Regions from separate parts of the Homo sapiens genome. Here all the other regions are linked to region 1. Evidence: promoter capture Hi-C in 16 types of primary human blood cells and fetal thymus (Javierre and others, 2016). All regions are on one chromosome and are shown on one strand. The core of a region is centred on a gene start or on the middle of the fragment in contact, and the rest is flanking DNA. Distances in the headings are between cores, read along the strand shown.

What was found. The method cuts DNA at HindIII sites, captures the fragments that hold promoters and counts their contacts. A CHiCAGO score of 5 or more calls a contact.
Region 2: the fragment with the promoter of SIN3A here is called in contact with a fragment that was not itself captured in region 1 in 4 of 17 cell types (naive CD4 T cells, neutrophils, non-activated CD4 T cells and 1 more); the score reaches 7.6 in naive CD4 T cells.
Region 3: a contact is called between the fragment with the promoter of MAN2C1 here and a fragment that was not itself captured in region 1, in 1 of 17 cell types (naive CD4 T cells). The highest score is 5.0, in naive CD4 T cells.

What each region holds. Positions count from the first base shown.
Region 1 is chr15:74,613,826-74,618,445 of GRCh38, reverse strand. CLK3-AS1 (CLK3 antisense RNA 1) reads left to right here and starts at 2,654. Exons shown (of 9, transcript XR_007064715.1): 1 at 2,654-4,620. CLK3 (CDC like kinase 3) reads right to left here and starts at 2,610. Exons shown (of 13, transcript NM_001130028.2): 1 at 2,548-2,610. RefSeq lists enhancers at 1,245-1,855, 1,856-2,467 and silencers at 2,556-3,095, 3,516-3,835. The HindIII fragment of the contact is 4,168 bases long and covers 556-4,620 here.
Region 2 is chr15:75,449,135-75,453,754 of GRCh38, reverse strand. SIN3A (SIN3 transcription regulator family member A) reads left to right here and starts at 2,065. Exons shown (of 21, transcript NM_001145358.2): 1 at 2,065-2,332. RefSeq lists enhancers at 1-80, 650-1,181, 1,411-1,460, 3,171-3,300, 2,728-3,647 and 2 more and silencers at 2,101-2,200, 2,421-2,920. The HindIII fragment of the contact is 8,340 bases long and covers 1-4,620 here.
Region 3 is chr15:75,366,135-75,370,754 of GRCh38, reverse strand. It overlaps MAN2C1 (mannosidase alpha class 2C member 1), which reads left to right and starts at 2,148. Exons shown (of 26, transcript NM_006715.4): 1 at 2,148-2,272; 2 at 2,557-2,682; 3 at 3,121-3,244; 4 at 4,163-4,233. The coding sequence starts at 2,172. It overlaps SIN3A (SIN3 transcription regulator family member A), which reads left to right. Exons shown (of 21, transcript NM_001145358.2): 21 at 1-1,376. RefSeq lists enhancers at 1,973-2,267, 1,952-2,271, 1,843-2,375 and a silencer at 2,402-2,481. The HindIII fragment of the contact is 2,518 bases long and covers 1-2,325 here.

The sequences.
Region 1 (4,620 bases), core at 1,390-3,889:
TACTGTCCCTTCTTCTAGCTCTCTGGCTCTAGTATCCTACCCTCCGCCTATCCCAGGATAGCCAGAGGGTTAGCCATCTGGCAGGTAAAAGAGCCCCACCTCACTATCCCTGTTCAGTGAGGACTTATATCCACCAAATGAAATTGCCAGGCTGGATCTGCCACCAGCGGAGAAAGCTGGCCATGTGAGGCCAGCAACCTGCTCCACCCATACGTCAATCCCTGACTGCCTCCATGGAGCCAGCCTTCTTCCCAACACTCACACTTGGCCACAGCCAACCTCCAGTCATGGTCAGTCCTGAGCTTGCCTGGCCAAGCACATTTTGTACAAACCCACTGAGGCTGCCCCATCTCACCAGCAGGGTCTGTCAGGAGAAAAGCAGCATAGAACAGCTCCCCATGCTTGAGCAGGACAGTGAGGCCTATGTGACCAAACCCCTGGGAGCCTCTCCGTGTCCCTAAGAAAGCCCTCCATCTCCCCACTAACTTGTCTTCCCCCGTGTACCTGGGAAGTCTTTGGAGATAAATATTTTGTGAAATCACCTCCCCAAAAGCTTAGATTTGTTGTTTTGGTAATCAGCTGACTAATATTTCACTGTTTTCCTGCAATTACTCTGGGTCAGGTGCCCAAGCTATGGAATGAAAGCAGGAACTCACACCCCACTAATTGACCCAGAAGATGCTCTATTGGCCAGGGCACATGTCGTGCCACAAGGCAAGTATGGTCCTGCCCATCCTCACTGGGCAGACAAACACCAGAGCTGGAGGACACAGTCACAGTCACACCACGCCAAAGACTACCTCCTGGGACCTAGAAGATTCTTATGTCCATACATATTCACATCAATGGAAAACAAAATTTCAGAGTCATATAGATGTCAATCTGAATCATGGCTTGCCACTTCTAGCTGTGTGCCTTTGAACAAATTATTACACTACTCTGACCGTCAGCTTCATCTTGCAACAAGGGAATAGTAATCTCTTACAAGGTTCTGTGAGGATTAAATATCTCTCTCCTATAAGTGAAATGCCTAGCACAGCTTTGTGCCCACAGAGGTACTAGTGGCAGCTTTTCATGAACATCTGAAAGTTCCAGGTAACACTTCAGGGCTGTGTTAAATGCCTTACAGACATTTTATAAGTCCCTTCCAAGGAAACTGGGAGGCAAGAGCTCTGGCAGAAAACTAAACTAAATCCTAGTGCTGTCACATACCAGCCTCATGACCTTAGACAAGTCACTCTAGGCCTTGGTTAGCATGCCTGGAAAATGGAGATAACATCTCTCAGCCTGGCAAAAGAGATGACAAGCATGAGAGTTATAAGGTACCACACACAAAGCAATAACAGAGAAGAGTATCCTTCCTTTAACACATTCTAGGCAAGTAAAATATTGGAAATAGCAGATATCATCCTCCCAGCCAGGGCTCTAGGGCCCATTTCTCAATTATCTCTGATTCTCGAAAACCTCAGCAAACAGCTTGTTTAAAAAGCAGCTAAAGGCCACAATTATGCTTTGGGAAGCTCTGCTCTGCACAATGAGGAAAAAGGTGATATGAAGAAAACCAAGCCAAGGATGTCAACTTTGAGCACAGGCCTTGTCGGCTTCTCATTTGCTGTTCCTGGCCAGAGAACTGGGCTGACTAGAAGTGCAGCCAGCCAGGTCAGCGGCTGCCCTCCCGGATTCCAGCCACCCCAGCACCCATGGTTATTTTTGGCTGGACTGCCCTACCACTGCAACCTCAAACCTGCCACCTCGCAAGCCTCCACCACCAACGGTGAAACGCTCCTCCTTTTCAAGGGCATCAAGAAGGGAAGCTGGAAGGCCGCCAACTCCGCCTCTGATGGGGGCCTGGTTCAGGCAATTTCCACCCCAGCTCCACATCAGGGCACCCACACCCGGAACTAAAGCTAGAGACTCCCGGGCGGGACGGAGGAGCAGCCAGGGGATTTGAACTGTCAGCTTGGCCTAGCCCATCCTCCGGGCTGGAGTGGCTCTACCACCACAACAAAACACACAGGGGAGCCTGCGCCCTCGTTCGCGTCCCTTCCTGCCGCCCCAGGTCCCAGGGGGTCTCAGAGTCCCATCCCCTGTAACCGCCACCAGTGGCGCCGAGGGGAGACCCGGGGACAGAGGGAAAGCCGGACTGGGCCAGAATCAAACTCCAGGCCGCCAAGGGAGGAGTCATCTGCGGACTAAGCCTGAAGCCAGGGGTAGGGGAGGGGTCTGAAGGGCTTCTCTGGCTCTTCTACGTCGGACCCCGACCCCATTCCGCGGGCAGGCACAGAGCCCAAACTGGACCCTTGAGCGGCCCCAGAGGCCGTTCAGGCTCCGCCTTCAACACCGTGGGGTCGAGGTCAGGGTCTGCAGTGACCGCCCTCCGGGGCAGAAGCAGCGGGTCAGGGGTGAGAGGTCGCGGCCCGATATGGGCCGAAGAGGAGAAAGAAAGGGAGTAGGCCGAGACCGAATGGCACCAGCGCGCCTGCCCCGCCGACTCACCCCCGGCCGCCGCCGCCGCTGTCGCCGCCGCGGACCCCAGCCCACACTTACCGTCTCCCAGGCTCCGGCTGCAGCTAGGCCCCACTCCCCGCTCCGAGCGCCTCTTCCGCTTCCGGCTGCGACCTCCGCCCGTGGCAGCCCCGCCCCCTCGCGTGACGCAGCCGTCGCCAGCCTCGGCTCGACCCGGCTCGGAGGCCTGGCCGCTCTAGCCCCCGACTCGAAGGCTCCGGGGCACCAGCCCTCTCCGCTCCGGCGGGCGCCGCGGCCTAGGAGACTAGTTCCGGGAGGGCCGAGGGGACGAGCCTGGCCCGGCCCGCCTCCCGCCGTGTCGCGGCGCACGTAGGTCCCCCGACCTGACAGGTGCGCGGCCCGGGCCGGCTGGGCTCTCAGAGCCGAGAGGTGGGGCCCCGACCTGGCCGTGGGGCTGGGCCCGCTCCGTCGCCCCGACCCCGCGTGGTCCGCCAACTCCCTCCTGCGCGCGGAGAGGACGGGCATTGTTCTCGGGGCCCCGGAGAGCGCGAGAGCGGCCTGAGGTCTGTGTGCCGGAGCTCGGGAAGGCGGACGCGACTCCGCTTGCGCGAAACGAGCGAACGACACATTATTATCTTGGTGTGTGCGGGTTTTTTGAAAGCCGTGGTGGCGCTCCCAGCTCGCCAGTGCGTGCGGGGCAGTTTCTGGGAAGATACCCTAGAGCTACTCTGGCGGGGCCGGAGTCTGGAGGGAGGAGATCCCCTCTCCTTGAGCCCCCTCCTGTGGAGCGGCTTCCTGCCGGCCTGCGTGGCCTCTCAGTTAAGACTCCCCCGCTAGACAAAAGCCCCGCCGGCTGCGTCTCTGGGCCACTGGACAGCCCCCTTTTGCAGAGGCCTCGAGCGTGGGGTCACCAAAATCCCTGACACCTACTGTCCCGCGCCGGGTCGGACAGGATTACGAGGCCCCACTTTCCAGATGAGAAAACTGAGGTGGGGATCTTTTGAGACCTCACTGTGAGCGTGCGCGTCCCGCCCGGTCTGGGAGTGGCGTCCCCGGCCTCGCGAGCGTCGCGCAGTGAAGCGACAGGGCGTGGCGCCTAATTGTCCCCACGCCACGCGAGGGCTAGAAACCCGCAGTCGGGGCGGACCATCCCTCCAGGCACCGCCCCCTCCTTGGGACCGCTCCGCGGGGGCGCCAAGGGTTTCCCCAGCACCGCCCCGGCGGCCGCCAGCCAGCCGCGGCCCCGCCCATGCCCCTCCCCGCGGGTCTGGGCCCGCCCCTGAAGCGGGGAGGTGTCGCAGGGGAGCCCCCCGCTTCCGAGCTGCGGCTGCGCATCAAGTCCTTCGCCAGCGGCTCTCCCTGAAACGGGGGGTTTCAAGGCGTGATTTGTAGGGGTGTTTAGTATCCCCTAAATCTCTGCCAGCTCCACCATGGCTATCCGAAGTAAACAACAGAAGCTAATTCAAAACTGGGTCCCCTTCCAAAAAATTACAAAAATTAGCCGGACTGGGTGGCGCATGCCTGTAGTTCCAGCTCCTTGCAGGGGACTGAGGCAGGAGGATCGCTTGATCCCAGGAGGTTGAGATTGCAGTGAGCTATGATCACACCACTGCACTCCAGCCTGGTCGACAGAAGGAGACCCTGTCTCAAAAAATAAACAAAAAATCGGCCAAGCGCGGTGGTTCACCCCTCTAATCCCAGTACTTTGGGAGGCTGAGGTGGATGATCACCTGAGGTCAGGAATTCGAGACCAGTCTGGCCAACATGGCGAAACCCCGTCTCTACTAAAAATACAAAAATTAGCTAGACGTGGTGGCACGCGCCTGTAGTCCCAGATGCTCGGGAGGCTGAGGTGGGAGAATCACTTAAACCCGGGAGGCAGAGATTGCAGTGAGCCGAGATCGCGCCACTTCACTGCAGCCTGCGCAAGAGAGCAAAACTCCGTCTCAAAAAAGAAAGTTAGGAGCCGCTTCAGTGTACAGTGGGTGACCCAGATTGGCTGCTGAGGTCCTGCCCCCTAAGGTCCTATCTCAAAAGCTGAAGATTTTGAAAAATCCCAGGCCATCTGAGATGCCATTCCTGCCTGGTACCCATGGCCTCGACCACACTAGCCAGGTTCCATCTCGGGGTTTCATCAGCTCAGATGAGGTGGAG
Region 2 (4,620 bases), core at 816-3,315, 840 kb before region 1:
GTTCTAACCCTGTCGCTTGGCTATTTCCGTGCCCCTTGACTTCCCTGAGCTTAAGCTCGAGAACTCTGCAGACGCTGCAAGTGTCTGTTCTTTCCTAGGCATGGCAGCGGCTGTCCTTAGTTGGCTGTATCTGAGACTCTGACAACCTAGTGCCCTGGCCTGGGGCCCTTAGGCGAGATCTTAGCGCAGGTGGTACCCTGTGTTCACGGGAAGTCGTGGGCGGCCTAATGCTGGCTTGGGTTCTGAGTAGTTCTTGATACCATGGTGGGAATGCCCTGTGGTACTCAGTCTAGTGGTGGAAGGCGGCGCAAAGTTAAAAGTAGCCGTGGGTCAGTTCTGCTGGAGTGCCGCTTCCTCCTAACCTCCGAGCAGTTTGGCCCTGGGGTCGCTTCGTTGGTCTGACTTATTTTTAGAGCTCTGTCCTGGGGCAGGGCTTGGCTACTGGCGAGGCTGCTCCCACCTGTCGGCTACCCTTGGAGTTCACAATTCGCTGCTGTGGTTTCGCGGCTCGAAGCCATCGCTGGAGTCAGGCCCACCTGCTGCCAGAGCTCGTTCCTGGCCGTTTCCGCTGGATTGCAGAGGGAGGACAGTGTTGGACCTAGGCGTGGGTTCCCTGGGCGTGTCCCTTGGGGTCTTAGCTCTCTGGGAGGAGGGTTCTACTTATTCGGGAGAGCGGTAACAACGTAATCCCGTCACCTCTCCTGGCGCTGAGAGAGCGCCCCCCAAAGTAAGATCAGCGTCAGGCCCACGCCCTATTTGGTGAATAAATAAAAGCAAACTAGGAATTGAAAGCACTTTGTCTCACTGTGTGTTCGAGGCACTGTTACCTACACAGAGAGGGCACAGGAACTGCTATTAACACTCCCGGCCAAGGAGAAGGTGAACAGCCGTTATCTTATGTCCCCAACTACGGAAATTTTATCCATTCTCTGAGTGTGGCATGTCCCCAATGTTAATTTATGCCGTGGCCTGTTTTGGTGTTTTCCTCTCCTTTCTCAGTTCTGAGGATGCCTCCAGATCCACCCGGGAGATCGTGAGTACCTTGTGCCTCACGCTCCGCCTTCCGGAGGCTTGCCAGGGCGGTGGCTGTTAGAGCCCGCCTCTCTTTTGGTTATCTCCGCCCTCTTAGGACTGCATATTCAGCTCTAGGGAGTTTACTTCTCCGCCTAGGTCTCCAGACCTTAGTTCTGTACTCTACTTGGCTGAAAGGAGTTGCCAGCTGCTCCGGATATTTGTGTTTACAAGGACGCAGTGTGTAGAATGTAAACTGTAAAGATAACTGGACGGAAGGATGAGTTCTCATTCTCTCATTTTTTTTGTGAGGGAGTCCTCCATGGTGGGCTGCCTTTCCTTCAAATCCTAGGATGTGGAGTCTCCGCTGATGAGCTCCGCTCCCCCTCCTATCTCGGGCCCTGGAACTCCGAGCTTCAGTCTCTAGTGTAAACATTCCACAAAAGGACTGCTAAGGTTCAGCCTCCTCGCGCAGGGTGGAATTAGCTCCTTCCTAGACGGGCGCCCTGGCCAATGGAGGGTCCTACCAGCGCCAAGATATCCAATCCGACTCTTGGGGCGGGGCCTGGCCCGGCAGTGCGGTAGGCGGAGCCTGTTTCACTTACAGACATTTTACCCCACATCGGTTACTTACCTTACTGGGGCGGTGGGAGAGCCAGGGGTAGCCTTCCAATGCGATGACCAGCGGAGGCGGGAGCCAACTTGTTAGGCCTGTGGCTGAGACGCTGCAGGGCGGGTTATGTGGTGTCCTCCAATGAGACAGGAAGAGCTTCCCTGCTTCCTCCAATAGTGTTGGGGCTCGGGGGTGGGCTTCAGCAGTCCGTCTCCAATAGGCGGGGTTGAGTTAGGGAAGCTCCCCGCCAATAGGGGCGTGGAGAAGGAGAGCGGCTCCCCCTCCCCTACCAGTCGAGGGGGAAGGGGCGGGAAAATCATAAGACAGGCCTCGGTGGTTGGCTGAGTCTTTGACGGGCGGGTATTGCGTCCTGTATTGGAACGAAGCTGAGTCTTCCCTCTGCGGGGCGGGGTCGGGGGAGTGGGCGGGATTTCCCGGGTAACAGAGAAGCGGCCGCGGCGGTAGAGGCGGCGGAGACGGTTTCTCCATCTTCCCCCCTCCCCTTCCCCCCTCGGAGTTTCCCTCCCTCCCTCCCTCCCTCCTTCCCAGTCTGGGCACCGGAGCCTGTGACCGCTTCGTTAGTGGAGAGGTAGCTGGCAGTCCGCTTCGGCGGGCCTGTGCCCCGCGCCGTTCTCGGGGCCTCCCTGCTGAGCTCGCGGCTCACGCTGAGAGGGACACGCAGTGACGAGCGGCCGAAGCAGCTTTGCGGTGAGAGCACGCTGGGCCGGGGGCCGGGCGGGAGCCTGGTGGCGGGTAACGCCGGACTCGAGGGTGTGTATTTTGGGGGGGGGGGGCTGACCTCCTCGGCTTCCCGTAGAGCAGACGGGCGGGAGGTGTGTGGTTGTGTGAGGGGGGTGGGGGGCGGAGCGGGGTAGCTCTCCGCGCGGGAGGGGGAGGAGAGCGTAGTCCCGGTGCGCGCGGAGGGGGGCGGGCTCTCGCGCCGCCGCTCAGAGGCGGGGCCGGCGCGCGCGTGCGATTGTGGAGAAAGGGGCGGGGCCGGCTTCGCGCTGAGTGCAGTTTGCGGCCGACCACCCCCTCCCCTCCTCCTGGGGTGGGCGGGGCCTCGGGCTGGCGGCCGCGCTCTGGCCTGCTGGGGTCGGGGAGGGGTAGGGGGGGGTCTCCCGCGTGTAGATTCAGGGCGCGGCAGGGAGGGGGCGTGAAGTCTGAGTTCCTCCGCCTTCTTGGGATCCGGTTGGCCGGAGGGGCCGTACTGATCCGTGATGCCACTCCCCTTGGCCGTCCCCCCCTGCACCCCGCCCAGGCCCCGGGTTTCCGCCTCCTTGGCAATGAGGAGGTGCTAGGGAAAGCCCGCTGTCGGGTCTGGCTGGGAGTCTCGGCGCCTAGATCTGCCCCGCCCTATGTCTCCGTGGGGAGGGAGGGGCACCCGCCGACTGGGAGCTGTGGAGGTGTCAGGACTTACTCTTGTGGCTGGGTCATGCCTTCTGCCTGGGGGCACAAGGGCCCTGTGCCGGAGCTGCTTTCTCCGCTTTGCTCCATGCAGCGTGTCTGGCACCGTGCAGCCAGGAGAGTGGGAGCATGGTCACCCCCACTCCCCTCTTGGTTGTAACTATTGGGGCGAAGTGCCCAAGGTCCTCTTGTAGGAGCGTGCGTGGCTGGTGCTGGAACCCTAGATCCGCGGTGGTGATGGTAGGGGAGGGGCAGGGAGTCATCAGAGACTAGAAATGTGGCGGAGGGAAAACCTTCCCTGGGGTTCCCTTGATGTTCAGTTACCGTGGCTGTACGGGGCGGGGCTTCCTTTGAGCCAATGGGTGGTGGGTAGTAGACTTGGCGTCTGTTTCGGTGCGTTAGGACTTTAAACGAAGTTAGCCTTGAAAAGGCAGTGGAAGCTCCTCCTCTTTACAAGGCTGAGATTTATAACAGGAAAGTTTGGATTTACATTTTAATCTCAAAACTGGTCTGTTTATAAAGTAGGGTTTGTTTTTTTTTTTTAAGAACTCAGACTTTGAATAAAATACTCCGATATCTCTGACAGTTGTATTTTTGAATGCTTTCATTGTGCACATGGTTCTGCTATATAAACTTAGTTTCCTGGACGGGCGCGGTGGCTCATGCCTGTAATCCTAGCACTTTGGGAGGCCGAGGCAGGTGGATCACTTGAGGTCAGGAGTTCGAGACCAGCCAGGCTTACATGGCGAAACCCTGTTTCTACTAAAAATACAAAAAAAAGCTGGGCGTGGTGGCAAGCGCCTGTAATCCCAGCTACTGGGGAGGCTGAGGCAGGAGAATCACTTGAACCCGGGAGGCGAGGGTGCAGTGAGCCGAGATGGTGCCATTGCACTGTAGCCTGGGCGACAGGAGCAAAACTCCGCCTCAAAAAACAACCAAAAAAACTTGGTTTCCTAAAGAATTTGCTATTTAGGTAACTATAGGTGAAAAGTCTTTTCTTTTTTATTTTATGTACTTATGTTAGACCATCTAGACCACTTTCTATTTATACTCTACATAGTACAGTGTTGTTGCCCTTTTTATTTCAGAGGAGGGTGGAATTGTGGATCAGGGTAGCCTTCTGTATGTGACTTCTGTAGCGTTGCCCTCCAGCCTGTATTGGAGAGTTGCCTTAGGGCATTTCAGATTTAGATAGCAGAACCACATTAGATGAGGTTTTTGCTTTCACTTGATACATTATCTTTTCCTATTGAGAGAAATTATTTCAATGTTTTTCACATTTTTCATGAGAAAAATAAACATGGAACCAATGTTTATTTATGCAGTAATGTCTAAATGAGCCTCTGGTTAATTATCTGAAGTGAAATTCTAGATTTGTGCTTTGGTTAGTAGGGCCTGAGTGGTACCCTGTGCTATATTTATGTGAAAAGGGTAGGTGGGTCCTACCTTCTCTGCTAAGGAAGTTGCAAAAGCAATAGCATTTTAGTTTAGCAAATGATGGCTGTAATAGAATTGGTGGGGAGACAAAAAATCCAGGTGGTTTTTTCTGATGCCATAAACTGAGAGAGATAGTGGAGAACGATTGACCA
Region 3 (4,620 bases), core at 899-3,398, 750 kb before region 1:
TCCCTTGTTCAAATAATCTGAAAATATTTTATATTTGGGTAAGTTGTCAAGCTATGTAGTTTGTATTTCTATATATTTTTTCTTATTCACATTGGTGATGGATGGGGGTGAGCAACTTAAATACCAAACCAGTGTTTGAAAAAAAAGTGTGCATAAGGCATGTGGTATACCTTATAAATGGAGTTGGGAGGGAGAGAATTTGAAATGGGATACCTATTTTTTTAATTACATAAATTTAAACTAGCAGACATTTAAACATGAATGATTAGGATTTTTCTATGTGGTTAACCTGGACTTTCTGAACAAAGACCAACTGAGCCCCTCCCAGTACTCTGGTGGATTTTTCTTCAGCAACCATTACGCAAGTCTTAGTTGTAACCAGCAATGTTCTGTGTGTTTTATGTTTGCTTTTTAGTTAAAAATCACCACCACCACCAAAAAGAAAAACAAAATTTTTTGGCTCCTGGATTTTCAAAACACATGGTAGACCTCTCTGATTTTAGGCTTTTATTGTTTAAAGACAGTGTCTCGCTTTATGACCCACACTGGAGTGCAGTGCCACGATCATAGCTCACTGCAGGCTTGACCTCCCAGGCTCAAGCAGTCCTCCCACCTCGGCCTCCTGAGTAGCTGCATGCCACCACGCCCAGCTAATTTTTTAACTTTTTGTAGAGACAGGGTCTTGCTATGCTGCCCAGGTTGGTCTCAAACTCCTGGCCTCAAGCTGTCCTCCCACCTCGGCCTCGCAAAGTGCTGAGATTACAGGTGTGAGCCACCCTGGCCTGATTTTAGGCTTTTTTTGTACTGGGGAGAAGAGACTGTGAGCCAAAGTGTAGGGTGCCAAAAAGAGCTTTGTGGGATGAGATTTTAGGGCAAAGCTGGGGCAGTGTCTGACTTGGCGGTGGTCATGTGTACTGATTTAGGGGAAAGATCTTGAGGTTTTCTCAAATAATTCACCTATCCCCGTGTTCCCTCAAGAAAGGTCATGTTGACCTGGAACCATAGGGGAAATTGGTGGGGTGTGATCAGGGTCAGCCCCAGCTGTTGCTGCCCCTGCAGTGTTTTGTCCAGAGCACTTGCCTGCAGGTCAGGATAGGATTTCAAGGCCAGTTCAGGAGAAAGTCCCAACCCACCAGTGCAACCAACAAAAGAGTAAGTTTTACCTACAGCCTGGGTTTTCACAAGTAGCATTTTTATTCCTCCTGCTGTCTGACATCTGAGCTCCAAGCTCTAAACCCAACCTGTATTATATGCAGCAGCAGGTTATCTTTGTTTTAAATCACATTTGTTATTCTGTACTTAGTCACCTTTCCGTGTGATCTGCATTTGAAATGTTGTAAACTTGGTCAGTATTTCCATTAAAATATCAGGGCTAATCTTGTGTATTTTTTTTTGTTCCTAATGATTTTATAGACAAAGACTCTTGGCAACCCCAGGAGAAAAAAAATAAAGCTGTCAGTGGAGTACTAGGGATGAGAATGAAACTGGAGGTCTGTTTCTGGTATTATGGCTTCCCGGGACTCTACAGTCCTGTATGGTGAAATACATTTTTCCATTGGGATCGTCAATGCCATGACTGTTCTGCCACCTCAAACTCCAGAGTTTCTGGTGATGTGCAAGAGTTAGCAATATACATTCAGTAAAGCGTGTAATCGAGTAAGTCGTAGTAACTTGGGCGTAAAGCTCTACCACCCTGCTCACTAACACCCTGATCTCCGTCCGGTATGAAAACACCTATTCCGGGTAGTCTGGCTCCACGTTAAGCAAACACCACTTTCCGTGTTCACCGACAGCTAGAGCCAGAGGTCTCCCGGTTGCTGCTTCTGAGGCTGGGTCTGCAGCAGCTGAGGCTCCCGCCTGTCTTGCCGAATGGCCTAAGTCTCTGTCTTGAGACTTTCGAGAGTTCTAATCGTCAAATTTCCCATTTTATTTTGAGATTTTCCCTGCGGCCCACTATTTCGGACAACATAGGAGAGCCTCAAAAACAGTTTCTAGCTTCCAACTCGGCTCAAAGTTCAGACAGCAGCTGGGCTTCCGAGAGCCGCCGGTGTTCCAAGAAAAGCTGCCCGGGACTGGGAGGCGCCCTCTGGACGCCGGAACCTTTGGTTTCCTGCCGTGGAGCGGAACGGTAGCGCCAGGGGCCTTCCGGAAAGAGGAGCGAGAGCCCGGCGATGGCGGCTGCGCCGGCCTTGAAGCACTGGCGCACCACGCTGGAGCGGGTGGAGAAGTTCGTGTCGCCGCTCTACTTTACCGACTGTAACCTCCGCGGCAGGTGTGGCCCCTGGTCCCCCGCAGCCGGCCGACCGCAACCGTGCGCCTCAAGCTTTCCTTCCGGGGAGAAACCTAAGCTGCAGCCACCCGGGCCGCGGGACAAAGTGCCCGCCGCGGGCAGGGCAGGGGCCGGGGAGGAGGGGGTAGGGAATGGACTGTGCCGCGGAGCGGCCAGGCAGCCCTCTTGGCGGAGGATCCAGGGAAAGTGCGGCCCCACCGGCCAGCTGGCCCCCAGGCGGAAACGGGGCGGCCTCCAGCATGTGCCCACCGGCCCGTCCCACGCAGGCTTTTTGGGGCCAGCTGCCCTGTGGCTGTGCTCTCCAGCTTCCTGACGCCGGAGAGACTTCCCTACCAGGAGGCAGTCCAGCGGGACTTCCGCCCCGCGCAGGTCGGCGACAGCTTCGGACCCACGTAGGTAACGCCCAGCGGGTGGGCGGGGCCACAGGCCTAGGGGAAGTCCCAACCCAGCTCCCAGCCACACCTTCGTTGTCTGCCCTCTGCCGTAGACAACTACGTGGGATCGAGCAGCACCCTCTGCTGGGAGCAGCACCCTCTGCTGGGAACAGCTCTCTGGTCCCTGGGTCTTCAGGGGATGGTTTTCATTCCCACGTGGCCGCCTCTGGACATCCCTTAGGAAGGGCACCCTAGGGATCACGAACCTTTGACGCCTCTGCCTGTTTCCCTCATCTTGCTTCTCACCTTGTTGCTCCTTTCTTGTGACTCAAAGCTGAGTACCTTGTGACACTGCAGATGCTTGGAGAGTTTCAAGCCCCTGCCGACACTTTATCCAAGGAAGGATATCAGGATAGGACTTCTACCTCTAGGCCTATCACAACAGCTCTCTTGCAGATGGTGGACCTGCTGGTTCCGGGTGGAGCTGACCATCCCAGAGGCATGGGTGGGCCAGGAAGTTCACCTTTGCTGGGAAAGTGATGGAGAAGGTCTGGTGTGGCGTGATGGAGAACCTGTCCAGGTGAGGAACCCTGTCCTAGGGCCAGGTATGGCCACATTTCAGCCCTGAAATGACTACAGCCCTTCTTCTGTGGACTCTGGAGAAGCCACAGCTGAGTTGCTCTGCCCACAGGGTGGTATCAGGATTTCAGGACTAGGGAAGTTGCCACTTGGGCATCTGTGCAATTGGTCCTTAGTTTTTATTGTGTATAATACAAACTTATAGGAAAACATTTCAAACAGTTCTAGATAAAGTAATGGATCTCTCCTTATCACCCATCCCATTCCCCAGCTATAACCACTGTTAAGTGTCTTATTCATGCTCCACCCTTATCAGGTTTAGTCCTTATACTCCTATCTAGTAGGTCTTTATACCCATTTACAAATTAAGAAACAGATGTGTAGTTGACTCACTCAGGTTCACACAGCTTCTATTTCAAATTGGACTGACTCTCAATCTGGGGTTAAGACTGTTCTTCCTGGCTACAAGAAGGCAGAGACCATCCCTTCCTCCCTTCACTGGCTCAGCAAATATCTCCTGGTGTCCATTCTGGGCCATACCCTTAAGCACTAGGGTGTAGCAGGGAATGAGGCAAACCTGCCCCTGACTTCACGGAGTTTCTTTCCCGGTATTTATTTAGGGGTGCAGAGGCCACCAGAATCCACACTCAGGCTGCCTAACCCCTTCCCAGGGCCCTTCCCATAAGACCATGGGTTTGCCACTGGTAAACAGGGGCTATTTGACGGTCATGGTGCTGGCTGCCATGGGAGTTGGGGCATCTACTGCCAAGGGTCCCTGATTTGCCAATCTTGGCCCTGCTTGGGAGAGAGGACCCAGAGCTGGGAACCAGATGGAGGGGCCTGACTCCCCATGGCTTACACTTTACCTGAACTGTCCAAAAGCCTCAAGCCTTGTCTCTCTCACTCCCCTCCCTACTAGGGTTTAACCAAAGAGGGTGAGAAGACCAGCTATGTCCTGACTGACAGGCTGGGGGAAAGAGACCCCCGAAGGTGAGTCCCTGTGCCCTGGTTGACCAGTGCTGTCAGGGAGGGAGTACCAGTGAGCAAGGAGGAGCTGAGGCCCAGAGTGATCTCATAAGCCCGCCTCTGCTCTAGCACAATCATCCTCACATCTCATTGTTTGCTTTTAAAAGCATGATTTTTTCCTAACCATAAAAATAATGGGCTGGGTGCAGTGACCCACACTACCCTGGGAGGCTGAGTGGGAGGATCACCTGAGCCCAGGAGGATGAGGCTGCAGTGAGCCATGATCACACCGCTGCACTGCAGCCTGGGCAACAGAGTGAGACCTTGTCTCAAAAATAATAGCAATGTTTGCCTGTGGTAAATACAGGAAAGCACAAAGAAGTAAATAACTACCGTTATTCCACTCCCTAG